2 separate regions of the Homo sapiens genome follow, and region 1 is linked to region 2. The links are contacts of gene promoters, found by promoter capture Hi-C in human tissues and cell types (Jung and others, 2019). All regions are on one chromosome and are shown on one strand. Each heading gives the region's core, a stretch centred on a gene start or on the middle of the fragment in contact. The rest is flanking DNA. Distances are from core to core; before and after follow the strand shown. Region 1 has its middle 290 kb from the start of TFAP2B. Region 2 holds the start of TFAP2B (transcription factor AP-2 beta).

Evidence for each region. Contacts are between HindIII fragments. The study calls those that stand out against the background at their distance.
Region 1: a fragment that was not itself captured here is called in contact with the fragment with the promoter of TFAP2B in region 2 in 2 of the 25 tissues and cell types used here (small bowel and spleen).

What each region holds. Positions count from the first base shown.
Region 1 is chr6:51,109,208-51,111,907 of GRCh38, forward strand. No RefSeq gene overlaps it. Among named protein-coding and RNA genes, the nearest start is that of TFAP2B, 290 kb to the left of the region's middle. The HindIII fragment of the contact is 5,060 bases long and covers 1-2,700 here.
Region 2 is chr6:50,817,464-50,820,251 of GRCh38, forward strand. It overlaps TFAP2B (transcription factor AP-2 beta), which reads left to right and starts at 1,408. Exons shown (of 7, transcript NM_003221.4): 1 at 1,408-1,509. The coding sequence starts at 1,429. It overlaps LOC124901490 (a long non-coding RNA gene), which reads right to left and starts at 1,563. Exons shown (of 2, transcript XR_007059923.1): 1 at 1,439-1,563; 2 at 1-181. The HindIII fragment of the contact is 7,987 bases long and covers 1-2,788 here.

The sequences.
Region 1 (2,700 bases), core at 115-2,614, 290 kb after region 2:
GGAATGTCTGAAGGCAAAGTTATGGCTCTGCTTGTCAAGCTGAGGACTTTAATTATTCTGATATTTTTAATTATAATCAGCTGCTGAATGAGTATTACATTGTCAGCTACTATCGCTGAAACTAGGCTGGGCAAAGGGGCTGGAGGAATTATGGGGACTTGCGGCTGTTCTTCCTACTAGCAAGGGAAAGGTATGGCCCAGCCACCCGGAGGAAGAAAATCTTCCAAGAGCAAGTCTTTAAAAGTGCACACAGAACTGGGTAAACCACAACAATTCAGGTTGGTTTGCCAATTAAAGACTGAAGCAGAAACTTCTCCAAAGCAGAATGAGAAAACCAGCCTCGTGTTCACTTCTATGGTTGGCAAGAAGCCTTATAAGATGATCATACCAATGGACTGGACTTAGCCAACTAGACTTTTTTTTTTTTTTTTTTTTGGAGACAGAGTCTTGCTCTGTCTCCCAGGCTGGAGTGCAGTGGCACGATCTTGGCTCACTGAAAGCTCTGCCTCCCAGGTTCATGCCATTCTGTCTCAGCCTCCTGAGTAGCTGGAAATACAGGCGCCTGCCACCACACCAGGCTAATTTTTTTTTGTATTTTTGGTAGAGATGAGGTTTCACTGTGTTAGCCAGGATTGTCTTGATCTCCTGACCTCGTGATCTGCCCACTTTGGCCTCCCAAAGTGCTGGGATTACAGGCGTGAGCCACCACGCCCAGCTGACATTTTTTTTTTTTTTTTAAATGAATACTAGTGTTAGCTTCCTGGAGCTCTGTGTAAATTGTTTGCTATAAAATTGGGCTTATATGACTTTCTGCTTTTTCCCTAAGTGGCAAGTTAGGAGACTTAGTATGCATGTCCTGGAAACTGCTATGTGTGTGCCAAAGAAAATTATTAATATTAAATAAATGTGCCTAGCACATGGTACATAACCAGTAAAAATGTATTGAATGAATTGTGACATATTGGTATATAATACACAATAACTAGCAAATACAAGTGTACTACCACAGCAGCTAATTTCACAAGATATCTGGGGATTTCTGCTAGAATAACAGAAATAAGAATCAAACCCTTTATCTTGGACATGATATTTAAACAATTGTCAGAAACACAATGAAAAATAATACCTCCAAATAATTCATTGAAAGATGAAACATGGTGACTTTTCCCTGTTGCTTAAAGAGCTTAAAACTTCTCTGTTCTCTTTAGATAATTACAACAAAGAAACTCTGAGCATAAGTGATGTTAAAGGTTCCAAATGACTTACAAACTGGCAAAGGCCCGCAGATTTAATGTTAAGGCATTACACAAATGTTGTGCTGATTTCTTTTCTTTTTAAAGATGCCCAGGAGTGAATTCACAGATTCTCAATCACACAGACACTCTATGAGAATCAGCAGTGTTTTCTTTGAGAATGTGGTTTAGGAATGAAGAAAGTCATTTAGCCCTTCATTATTGCAAAAATGCTCTGCATTTAGCAGTCTCTGTTTTCCTATATTGTACAGAAGAGGCAAATAAAATCCATAAAATCATAGTCTATTAGGACCAGGAAGAGACCTTTGAAAGGGGCAGCAGTGTGTATAGTATTTTAGAGGATATACACCCGTATTTGATTTATTTAACAAACTCTTGCATAGACTTTGTCTTGTGCCAGGCATTGTTTGAAGCACTCCTAAACAACCATAAAAGAAGCCCCCATATTACTGAGGCACATGGATTAAGGGACTTGACCAAGGTAACACAGCTAGCACGTGGTGGGGCTGGGAATTGAGCTCTGGCCTAAGAGGCTATGTTCCTCACAGCTGGGATGCAGTGCCTCACATGGTGTGACTTAAATCTTGGCCTCTTTTGGTCCTCTGTGTCTTCATCTGTTAGTAGGAAATAATAATAGTATTTGCATCATAGTGTTGTTGGGAAGATTCAATGAAGAAATGTCAATGGGACATTTCACATAGATCTGAAAATACAGTACATGCTTAATAATACTTGCGCCATTTAGCTAGATATCAGGTCCAACCTCCCAATTTTGCAAATGAAGGATCTAAGGAACAGAGGTTAAGTGACTTGCTCAAGGTCACTACATCAGCAGGTACCCCAGCTAGGAGGAGAATGTTGGACACCTGATTCTCAGTCCAGTGCTCTGTCCACTGTCTACATCATGGCTCTTGGAGTCACTAACTTGTCTTCCAAGTTGCTTGGGACTTTCCTGATTTTTGGATTGACAGGCAAAATCAATAGTTGGTCACTCTAGTTCTCATGTAATTTTACTCTGCAAAGGACAGGTAGTCTTGCCTCTTTCCCTAACATCTGATTTCTTGGGAAAAAGGTACCTGGGCTTGGGAAGGACACAGACAACTGTTAATATCTTTATACCAAACATTGGTGAGAAAAGCTCTATATAATGATGTGCAAATCTCTTTACTATCTTAACAGATGAAATTGGCTGATTTTTGTGACTGCTCTTATTGAATATTCCTGTGTTGACACAGCATAAATAAAATATCATAGGAGTTACAGCATCATGATATTGCTTTAATTACATATTGCTTTACATTTTCAAAATGATTTCCAGTGCATTATCTTACTTGGTCTTGTTTTGTTTTTGCCATGTTCTTTTCCATTTTACAAATGGGGAGAGGAGGGCTCAGATAATGGTGACTTGCTTAAGGTCACAAACCTGGGCCCCTCACTCAAAGCCTAA
Region 2 (2,788 bases), core at 158-2,657:
GCACACAGCAGTCCTGGATTTAAAGACAATCACCCTTTGCAGATTCACTCTCACCAGGCTTAATAACTTCCACCCCAAATTGCCCCATCCCTCCTCGGTCCCTCCTGGCATTTCTTTTCTGTCCCAGGCGCAGAGATCCTCTTCTGGGCGTCTGTTCCGGCTATGAGAAGCTCTCCGCACCCTGAAAGGGAGTAGAAAAACAGAGGGGATGGGAAAGGGGGAACAGGGGAACAGATGAGTATTCATTTCATGATAAAATTCAGAATCCCTGCGCCTTAAATGGTGCCCATTTTCTAAGTCTGGTTAATATTGTTCTTGTTGCTGATGATGTTTTCCTTTTTAAAAACTATATGAATCATCTTATTAAGAAAAATTATACAAAAAAAAGAAGAAACTCCACATGCACTAAAATATTTTTCACTATCTCTTTGAAGACATTCTGCTTAAACCTTTTCAAAGATTCGGGTGGCCCTTTCTTGACTCTCCATGATTAAAACCACTTACAAGTCATACACAACAGATGCAAATATAAAATGTCCTTGGCCTCTGCAAAAAAGGCTCAAAATTAACCTTGTCTGAACGTGTGCGTACGTTGCTTCCAACATCTGAAAAAAACTTGATAAAATGGAGACTCCAGCCAAGAGGAATGGTGCATGGAATCCGTTGAAAATGCATACAAACAACACCTAAAATAACAAGCAGCACAAACTGAGGTGTATTTAAGTTTCCAAAGGTTTTAGGTAAAATGACCAGAAAATATTAGAAATGGTCATCAACGGTGGCTAGCTTTTTTGTTCTATGGTGACAGAGATAAAGTTAAAAAAAAAAAAGTTGTGTAGCCATCAACACAGAGATAGTCCTTAAAATCCCCCATATCCAGCCTTTCAAAATACTCTCTTCCGGAACATACATGAATAGGAGGGAGCTTTTGTGTTTAAAAATCTTGGTAAGTGTCCCCCTTTAAAATCTACATAGAAAATAGGGGACTGATGGCCCCTGGTTTCTCATTATGAATTGCAAAGACTTCAGTTAGTGGCTACAATGATGTGTCATTTTCGATATAGAAGTTATAAAATGTATATATTATATTAATCACCCTGAACAACTCTTTGTTAAATGCACATTTGGAGTCTGCAGACTGTGTGACCCAGAGGTGCTTATATAACTATATGTGGGTGTCTGGGTGTAAATACGGGTTTATGATTTTTATAGTATATATGTCTGTGGGTTGCATCTAACTCCTGTGTGTGCAATAATGTTTTTTCTCTTTGCTGAGGCTTACTTGTCCAGCCTATTGTTTGAGACAACAGATATAAGTTGCGATGGGAGAGGAGCGTCGGATTTGGTGTGTATCCCCCATTTCCAATTATAGATGGATCATTACAGACAGCGGAGTCCTGAGAAGCCAGACATCTGCTCCTCACATGAATGCACTCACCTCCTAGAGACCAGGCTGCCATCATGCTCTGGAAGCTTGTGGAGAATGTCAAGTACGAAGATATCTATGAGGTGAGTCGACACCCCCAGATGCACCTTAGAGCTTTGCAGATAGAGAATTTGAGCTTCTTGATACCCCAAATGATATATATTTTTAAGCTATTTACTCGTAGATTTCCGGTCGGTTTTCTCAGCTTTTTTTAACTTTTAGAAAAGCTGGCTAGGGAAGACTTCGCTGCTCTGAAAAGGGACTTTAAGGCTGAAATCTGACAACTTTAATTTAGGAATGTTTTTATTTATTTTATTTTTCTTTCCCTTTTCCTCGCCTCCCCCCACCCCACCCCACCCTTTTAAGCTCTGATGGGGAATGTGGTGCTACTGAATGTGGGCACGCTCTCAGAGAAAATCGAGATTCTGATAAAGTCAGGGGCTTTTCTCGTTTTAAGTGTGGAAGAGAATTGGGTTTTCAAGCCTCATTTGTAACAGACTCGGGCTTTTAATTTTTATTTTCAATAAAATTTCTGAAATTGATAACAAATGGTTCCAAGTAGAGGACAGAGAATTAGCGGGAAAGAAGTAGATGGCTGGAGATATGGATGGATAGAGCAAAATAGAAGTCGTAGCAGTTTATTAGTTTCTGTTTTCTTGTGTTTTGCTTCCTTGAGGGTCACTGCGTCCGAACAGAAATCGCAGCCGCCTCCTGTGTGGGCATCTTTCACGGAAATTTCTGCCCACGTTCAATGCGTACGGGTCTCTAGCACTGAGGCTAGCTCAACTCTTCGGGGCAGGAGAAGTTGCGCCCAGCCAGGAGGACGCCAGCCGCCTCCGGGGCCCGGACCGCGCTCGCCAAAGCCCTTTTCCGGCTCGGGCGAGGGCTGACGCGGCCAGACGGCTCCGCTACTCGCGGGCGAGGCGGACTAGGCGGACGAGGCGGCCGAGGCGGGCGAGGTGGGAGAGGCGGGCGAGGTGGGAGAGGCGGCCGAGGCGGGCGAGGCGCGGGGCGCGCGGCGGGCCAGGCTGGGGACCGGGAAGCCCGCGGAGCCTCGCTTTTAAGCGGAATGGTCTGGGACAGCCCCAGGTGGTTGCCAGGGGAAGGGAGGAAGGGAAGGTTCTGCTGAGACGTCGAGGTTGGAAATAAAAACTTCGGAAAGGCGAAGCGGATTTAGAAAAGGAGGGAAGTCGAGGCGGGCGAAGCGGGCCATGGAGATTGCTAAGAGGAAAAGTTGGAGAGAAAAGGAAGGAAGAGAAGCAGACTCCCGGGTGGCGGGCGCGGGCCGCTAGGTCAGACGAAAGGTGGAGGGATGCAGAGGCTCCCCAAAGAGCCGAGAAAGACACGCGACCCCTCCGGATC